Regions from separate parts of the Homo sapiens genome. Here region 1 is linked to region 2. Evidence: promoter capture Hi-C in human tissues and cell types (Jung and others, 2019). All regions are on one chromosome and are shown on one strand. Each heading gives the region's core, a stretch centred on a gene start or on the middle of the fragment in contact. The rest is flanking DNA. Distances are from core to core; before and after follow the strand shown. Region 1 overlaps AKAP7 (A-kinase anchoring protein 7). Region 2 holds the start of ARG1 (arginase 1).

The links. The method cuts DNA at HindIII sites, captures the fragments that hold promoters and counts their contacts. A contact is called where the count stands out against the background at its distance.
Region 1: a contact is called between a fragment that was not itself captured here and the fragment with the promoter of ARG1 in region 2, in 4 of the 25 tissues and cell types used here (H1 embryonic stem cells, dorsolateral prefrontal cortex, hippocampus and 1 more).

Annotation. Positions count from the first base shown.
Region 1 is chr6:131,244,581-131,249,219 of GRCh38, reverse strand. The region is part of intron 7 of AKAP7 (A-kinase anchoring protein 7); the gene reads right to left. Among named protein-coding and RNA genes, the nearest start is that of AKAP7, 110 kb to the right of the region's middle. The HindIII fragment of the contact is 9,498 bases long and covers 1-4,639 here.
Region 2 is chr6:131,571,365-131,575,674 of GRCh38, reverse strand. It overlaps ARG1 (arginase 1), which reads right to left and starts at 2,449. Exons shown (of 8, transcript NM_000045.4): 1 at 2,336-2,449. The coding sequence starts at 2,392. It also overlaps a transcript of MED23 not described here. RefSeq lists an enhancer at 2,482-2,983. The HindIII fragment of the contact is 11,485 bases long and covers 1-4,310 here.

The sequences.
Region 1 (4,639 bases), core at 269-2,768, 330 kb after region 2:
ATATGTCACAGGTACATTAATATGCACTTTGACTTCCACATTAGAAATATTGTGAAGATCTATGGAATAAAAAGCAAAGATCTGACTGATTAAACTGGCAGGTCTATCCACATAATTAAAATTAATGTTTAGAGAATTACATGTCTTTAAATTGCTTTCACTTTTTCAGACTATTTAAAATGTAAAGATGCTTATTTTACCTTGGTTTAAAGAGGACACTCCATTCTATCATACAATGAACATTATAATTTTAAGTAAAATTCCACTTTTATAACCAGTTGGGTTTCTTCACAGCTTAGTGACTTATAAATAAACAGCAACTTTAAACTCTTCCAGTATTCCCCCAAATTCACCAATACATGAGTGAATACAGGTGTATGTTTTAAAATATAAAATGATTTTGTATATAAATGTAAAATAGTCCTAAAAGCAATAATATAAACCTTATTAAGACCAGAAAGCAAATAAATGGCCTGTAACCCTAAAAATGGAAACATCAGAACCTACAGCAAATTTTGAACACTGGAGACGTGACACAGAATGTGGTTCTTCCCAGCCTTAACACTGCCACTACCCAGCTAGGAAACACCAGAGAAGCCCTTGGTCCTCTCTGGACCTCAGTTTCTTCACCCAAAAATAAGGCAGTAGGCATATTAGGATCCTCTACAGTACTAGCATTATATGATTTTGTGATCAAAATAACAAAGGAAATAGCCTAACAACCAGTGAACAATTATCCTAAACATTACTTTTTGTGTTCAGTGAAGATGTATTTGCAGGGAACGTTCTTCACTGAGGAAAATTAGTAACTCCTGGCATTTCCCAATCACCAGCATCAGTATAGTGATAAAACCTTTAGAGTCAGGAAACCATGGGTTTAAATCCCAGATGTCAGGTATTAACAGTTATGAAACTCATGCCTCCTGGTCAGAGTTTTGATATCTTTATCTGTAATTCAGGTAAGTTCATTATAAAGCTTTTAATTTGCATTGCAAAATAGTATTTGATGGGGAGGGGAAGAAGAGAACAGATTGTCTGATGGCTGTATTTATATGCACCTCAGTCTTTCTAGCACCAGGTAGTAATCTTGCCTCCTGCTCTTCCAATTTTGTGCCCTACTAGCTGCCATCTTGAGTTAATGCTTATATATCTGGCCTCCAAACAAAAAGGCCCTCTACTCAAACTCAGAGCCCAGGAGGATAATGTTCGTGCAATAAATCCTACCAACTTAACTTTATTATTAACCATTCCCTGTTGGCACTGCTTCTGAAAATGTGCAATTAAGAATAGGGACAGGCACCATGGCTCATGCCTATAATGCCAGCACTTTGGGGGGCCAAGGTGAGAGAATCACTTCAGGCCAAGACTGCGAGACCAGCCTGGGTAACACAGTGAGACCCCATCTCTACAAAAAAATTTTAAAAATTAGCTGGGCATAGTGGCACATGCCTTAGTCCTAGCTACTCAGGAGGCTGAAGCAGGAGGATTGCTTGAGCCCAGGAGTTCAAGGTTATAGTGAGCTATGATCATACCACTGTACTCCAGCCTGAGTGCAGGAGTGACCGAGTGAGACCCTGTCTCTATAAAAGAAATAAAATATGGCCAGGCGCGGTGGCTCATGCCTGTAATCCCAGCACTTCAGGAGGCCAAGGTGGGTGGATCACGAGATCAGGAGTTCAAGACCAGCCTAACATAGTGAAACCCCGCCTCTATTAAAAATACAAAAATTAACCAGGCATGGTGGTGCACGCCTGTAGTCCCAGCTACTCGGGAGGCTGAGGCAGAAGAATCACTTGAGCCTGGGAGGTGGAGGTTGCAGTGAGCTGAGATCATGCCACTGCACTCCAGCCTGGGTGACAGAGAGAGACTCCATCTCGGAAAAAAAAAAAAAAAGAAAAAAAAAACATATATATATATATATATATATATATATATATATATATATATATACATATGAAATGTGTCATTAACTATCAAGATATTCTGCATGAATGAAGGGGAGCTAGATAATGTTAGAGGCTTTTTCATAAGCATTAAGTGAATTAACCATAATGAAAGATAGAAAACAATGGAGAAATTCAAGATAAGAATTCTAAAACCTAACATTTACTGGACACATAACACCAGGCACTTGAGTTTACTCATTCATTTAATCTCTAAGACAGCTCTCTGAAGATGGTGGTATTACTATCCCCATTTTACAGGTGAAAAACGTAAGCTCAGCAAAGTAACTTGGGTGAAATCTTTTGGAGAGTATTGACAATAAGGGGATCTGAACTCAATCTGTCTGGCTCTACAAACCCTAAGCATTTGATCCAGAGTTCTGTATTATTAAACACAATTTGTGTGTAGACTCAGCTATATACAATATGAAACAGCATACCACAATTTCAAAATATTATGCAGAAAAATGTTATTTAACCAAGCTCTATCAAAATCTTGCCTTGGTTCCTCATGTTTTGCCATCAAATCCCTTTACTAATGCTGCTAGAGTAATATAATCCTATTTCAAAACAAAGGACCTAAAGATAGACCCTTTTTGGGGCTGGAGCCTAGCACTGTTGCCTGCCACATCTTGGAAAAACGACTCAATTAAGAGCACAGAAATAGCAGAATGGCCCCTGAACACATTCATCTTCCAGGAAAAATAGCAACTTGGACCATTCACAAACATAATCCCTGACAATATTCATGACCTTTTATTAGGGAATTAACACTCTTCTCAGTAGCATATGGAGGTCTACTGTAAGATTTAAAAAAGAAGGTTAACCTTGATGAGGAAAAATATCTGATATGATACTATGTTCATAAACTTAAAACCATAACCTTTCCATGCTTTCTTTTCTCCCAGGCCTGGCTACAGACCAATCACGGTTAGGACAGTTGCCTATATTTGCTATCATATTTTGGGCTTTTTATTACAATTGTTTAAAATGGCAGCAATAAAACTAAAAAGTATGAGGTGGGTGGCAGCTGCCTCTTGTCCATGTACTTTAACTGTCAGCTCTGATTATTGTCTCTAATGGAAAAAGATAATTCTTAACTATGACCAAAAGCTCTATTCTCTGTTGGTTAGCATCTTTTTCTACCTATAACTGAACATATATATATATATATATATATATTTGGACTTCTGAGAAACCTCATGGAAAAGTCTGAGTCATAATAAAAAGCAAACCTTGCTGTAAGATTCTGACTCTACAAAACTATGCAAATTATCAATTCTTACCAAAACTGTACAAATTCCCAATCTTCTGAGGCTTCCAACTCACTAATTAAAGGAAATTTGAGTCTGACAACTTGCAGAGACACATGAGAAGGAAAAACATGGTAAATATCTTGTATTCAAAAGAGAGGAGAGAAAAGAGGACATTAAATGATGAAGCATAAAGAAAGAGAAAAACCACTTTATCCTTCTAAATTTTGGAACCAAGCCTTAGGAGACGAGACATACCTTTAACTATAAAAGAGACAATTTAGAAAGATTTCATTACACAGCTGGTAGCCCACTCATGGAAACTGTTATGCCAAGAAATGTCACAATTTCAGTGAAAATGTATGTTAAGTTCAAGAAGTGCTTGACAATTCGTGGAAACATAACTTGTGGAAATTGGGATGTTTTGGAATACATTCCAATTTTTATGTTGCCACTGGGTACCAAAAAGACAAACAATTATTCTGGGCCTGAAGAAAATCGGATGGACATACCCAGTATTACATTTTGTTTCTCTGTGTTCTTGTAGTGAAACCGCGTCTCTACTAAAAATACAAAAAAAAAAACCAAAAACAAAAAAACAAAAAAAAAAACGTAGCTGGGCGTGGTGGTGGGTGCCTGTAATCCCAGCTACTCGGGATGCTGAGGCAGGAGAATTGCATGAACCTGGGAGGTGGCGGTTGCAGTGAGTCGAGTTGCACTACTGCACTCCAGCCCGGGCAACAGTGTGAGACTCCATCTCAAGAAAAAAAAAAAAAAAAAGAATTCAACTCTCAATAATCAATCCACAATAGGCCAGACCCAAAAGATGCTTCTTTATTGTTTAGCCACTGCTGCATCTTTGTAGTCATTTTGTAACCAAAGAGAAAGATTCTGAAACAACATCATTAAACCACAACCGAAAAAACTTTATCTATAAATCTCACTGGTTAAGTCCTGTTCTTAATTACCTGCAAAAAGAATCAGTCTTAACTGTGAAATTTGGAAGCCAAGAATCTTTTTTTTAAACCATTACTCCTACTTTAGTCATATTTTCAACAGACTTTTTACTTCTCTTTACAGTGCTTTTGTTTTTCTCTAAAACTAAAAGTTATAGGTATTTGTATTTGAAACTGCCATATGCTATACAATTTTAATATGTATAGCAAATGGAAAGAGAATTTTTTTTTCTATAAAACAGAAGCCATAAAAGCATAAGATGCCATATACAGCATATGTGCATTTAGGAAAGGGGAAGAAACAAGTAGATACCAAGAGCTACCAAAGAAGTCCTTATTCTTCACCAATCCACAAGAGTCATTCCGAAATCTCTGCTGATGCATTTCTGCTTAGTGCCAATTTTCAAATGCCTACTCCATGGTTACTATTCAGTCAGTTCTTTTCTATGTGTGTGGCCCAACATTTAACGGCATGGATAGTCAAAGC
Region 2 (4,310 bases), core at 1,200-3,699:
TGTTGTCAGATGAGACAATGTGTTAAAAGACACGTGTGTCTATCTTTAGGATTGGGGCTGTGGCATCAAAGTAAGCAAGTATTTTTTCCCCATTCAAAGGAACAGAAGACTTGCCCTGGGTGCCAGGCAAATCCTTGATGTTAAATTCCTGTCCCTGGCAGCAAGGGACCCGCCCTATCCTCTGCCTGACACATTTTGCTTCTTTACTCCCTTTTTGCTTGACACACCTGCCTCTCCCCAATCAAGTAAACATGATTTCTCCTTCTTTCAACCCCAATAGGGTGCTGCTTGGTTCATGTTTTGCCTTTAGTTTTGTGTCTGTTTTTGTCTTTTCCTCATTGTTAGATTTCAGTCCAGCTTGCTTTACATGTGGGGCACTATATTTTGTAGTGTAGAGCTGACATATAGTAGATACTCAATACTCAGTTTGATAAAACTCCTTGGCTTTTTTACCCTTCTCCCTTTCATATTTTAGAACAAAGCTCATAGACCCCTTAGTTGACACTATATTTGCTATAACACAGCCATTAAATTTTCTAGAATTCTTTTTTATTTGTTTTATTCAAATGGCTTCTCATGATTGGGCTTTCCTCTTGCTTGCTCTATCTGCCCACTTTGGAAATTGCTTTGTCAGCTCCACCGACTTTCTAAGCTGGGCCCAATCCCTAAATGGCCACAAGTATAAGGTCGCCTTTGGAGTTGAATAGTCTGAAGAGACATCAGTGCAAATCAAGGGCATAGGCATTGGAATCAGATTATCTTGTCTGGAATTATGCAGTCAAGGCTGTGTGACGTTGAGCACATTACCAAACCTCTCTGGGCTTTTTTTTAACCCAACTGTAAGGTAAAAATAATACCTACCTTATTGTTTGTTCGCTGCCTTGCAAGCCTTTCAAGGAGGTGAGACAGGGATGAAGCCCTTTCTCAGACTCAACATTTTAGTCATCTGCCCTCTAATCCTTTCCTTTTGCTTATTTGTCAAACTTGTACCTCCTTTAGGTGAGGACAAATACTTATATGTTGGCCATTTTATCCTCTCTACTCTATGACTTAGTGTAAAAAATCTCTCTCTCTTAGTCCTTACAATCATGAGACAATGAACTCCATTCTCATGACCATGTTTTAATGGGAGGAGGGTGGTAGAAGGAGGACACTTGCTTCCCTTTTGTGAGGTTTTTAAATTATATATTTATTATAACCTGTTCAAGAGTGGGTGAGAACAGTGTGGATTTTAAAAGGAACATTTCTGTGTCAGCAAAATGTCCCTGTGTTTGGGAGAGACTTTTGGAGGATTTCCAGGGGAAGCAAAGTAGTATTTACTGACAGTCCAAATGCAGTTTGGGCCTCTAACCTCTGGCCTCTCTCAATTTGTTTTGCAGTAAAAAGTCAGAGTACACAGCAAGGGTTCCAAATTAAGAGGAAGCAAAACGCTGCCCAGATCCTGAGAAACCTGGAGAAAATCAACCTTAGTAGTTTCAACTCATACATTGTCTTGTTTGATTTTGTTCTTTGTTTTTTATCCTCTTTAAGCACAGATGCGTGTTGAAGTCTAAGGTGTTCTGTCATCACACTCTCTTTACTAGAATAAGTGTGCCCAGGCAGAAAAAAAAGTGTATTCAATGTTGCTGGCATGTGTGGATTCACAGCTCGTGGCTGTAAGGAAATCTGGGGGTTTCATAAATCCATTAAAATCCTTTTAGAGTTGCCAACCCGCAGTAGGATTTTCTTTCTTTTTTTGTTCTTTTTTTCCCCTTCCAAGTGAGGCACATAAAGGATTCTACCTAGTCCATGAATGAACAGTTTCATAGAAACATTAAAACCCTAACATAACATGAATTATTCACAAAGTTGCATGAAACAATAATATTTAGGTTATCCAAATTATAAGAAGCCTGAAGGTTACCACCAAACTATTAAATTTTTCTAGGCATTAATTACATAACTAAACAAATGTATTTCTTAAAATTCTCTCTTCCTCTACATACACACAGTAACATCAAAAACAACAAGAGCAACTAAACCTCAATGAGTAGCTACAATGCAGAAAGAGTCCATTTCAATTCAAAGAAAAATATTTTCTCCTAAAAAATATGAGAAAACATTCTGTAGGTTCAAATGAATTTAGCCTTGGCTGAGATCACGAGCCACAAAAGTAAGTGGATATGTGACTATAATTATACAATGTTGGAAAATGGTGAGAGGACTTTAAAATATGCATTTCCTGGCCAGATTGTATCAGAAAACTGAACTAACTAGACAATAACACCTTACAAATTTTGAAGTCCAAAATTTTCAACTAAATTCCAGGAATTCAAAGAAAGACTTTTTTCCTTACCTGTCCCTTTGAGAAAGGAGCTCCAATAATCCCTATGGTTCTGGACTTGGCGCTCATGCTCTGACACTTCTCTTTGCTGCACTTGAGCTCTCCAGTCAGTCAACCCTCAGTGACAGAGGGCGCATCTTTTTTTTCCATTTATACTTGGGTTGAATAAACAACCTTTATCTAATGAGGACAGCTGGCTCCACCCACTAAACCAAAGAATGACAGTCAACAGTCTTGCAATTTTTCATACATGGAGTAACTATATGGTTACTCCATGTATGAAGTAACTATATGGGGTTACTTCATACATGGAGTAACCTAACTCTGAGTCTAGGTCTCTAATCAAGTGACAATTATTCATGTTCTCACTTCACACCCTTTTAAAAAGCCAGCCAGATGACATTAACCTGACTTCAACAACTGACAAGTTTCACAACTACAGAAGAAGTCCTATTGTTCTGGCTCAGCGAACTCAGGGCAAGGCCCTTTCCTCCTCCAGATCTCTGAAGACGTCCTTGTAGAAGAAGGGCCGGGCTTGGCAAGATCGTCTGTCACATCCCTTCCAGCCCTAAAATCCTGAGTTGAGATTTCACACATGAGGGTAAATGGTTAATCCATGAGACACATTTCATAAACTTTTAGGGTATAATATAATAAAGAGTATATAACTTCCTTTTTTGATGATTACTTTAAAAAATTAGTTACTTGATTGGTAACCCAGAGAGGTTACCATTTTTGAAGTATGGTGTACAGGAAAATAATTGTAGAATCATATCATAATCAAAGTATAGAAATAAAAATAGCTAACATTGAGTTTTTACCATGTGTCCGATGCAGTTCTGTTTCAAAATACCATATTTATATTTATACCAATTTTATGTGAAGTCTCATCATTGGTGCCATTATACTGATGAATAAACTGAAGCTCAGACCCGTTGCCAACATAGGCTGTAGAAGAAAAGTCGGGATTTAGTCTCTGCCATTCTGAATCCACTTAACCGTCGAGCTTATAGTCTAAATGCTGGGAAGGTGTCAACCTCTATGCCCCTGAGCTACCATTTGTCACCATACAAAAGTATGAATTTAAAATAAAGGCACCTTAAAGATCCTTCCGACTTTAAAATTATGTAATTGTAATTTAAAGGGAAAATTCACTTAGTAGAAACTAATTTCTTTTTCCTATTGGTGGGAAAGAACATTTTGGAATTTAAATTCCATGAGGTCAGAGAATTTTGTCTGCTGTATCCCCAGGGCCTAGAAGAGTGTTGGTGTATAATAGGCACTCAATAAATATTTATTGAATGGATAAATGAGGAAACCAAAGTCTCATGGGTCCATTTTGATAGGACTGTTTTCCAAATAGGTTTCCTACCTTTTTCTTGTGGGTTTGCTTGTATATCCTAAATATTTACTTGTGGTATTCCTCATATTGCCTAGATATTAACCTTATAGCATTGACATTGCAAATAACTTTTCCCAACCTGTCAGAAATCTGATAACTTTTTATATGTTATCACTCAAAATCCTCAATTTTAAAATAGACACTTGTATAATTTCCCCCGAATGCTTTGTGCTTTGGAAGTCTTATTAAATTCCTGCCACCCCATCAAATTGTAGGTATGTAGTTTTACATTTTCTTCCATTTGCCTTAGAGCTTATCTTTCTCACTTAGTTCCTGAATCCATCTTTGTATGTTATGTAAATTTTCCAACTCGTTTTTCCTCTATCATTCATGCATCAGTTTCCTCAACAACACCCATTGAATAGTCATTCATTTTGCAATTGATTGGAGTGCTGTCTGTCACTAAACTCTTTCTTCTGTTCCATTGACTTATTTACCTATGGCTGCACCAGATCCATCAGGTTTTATCAATACAGTTTTGCGGTACATCTTATCATTGTTTAGGCAAGAGTAACTGTTTTGCTCTTCTTTTTCAAAATTGATTTACCTTTTATGGGTCTCTATTCTCCTATAGTTGGAATAACC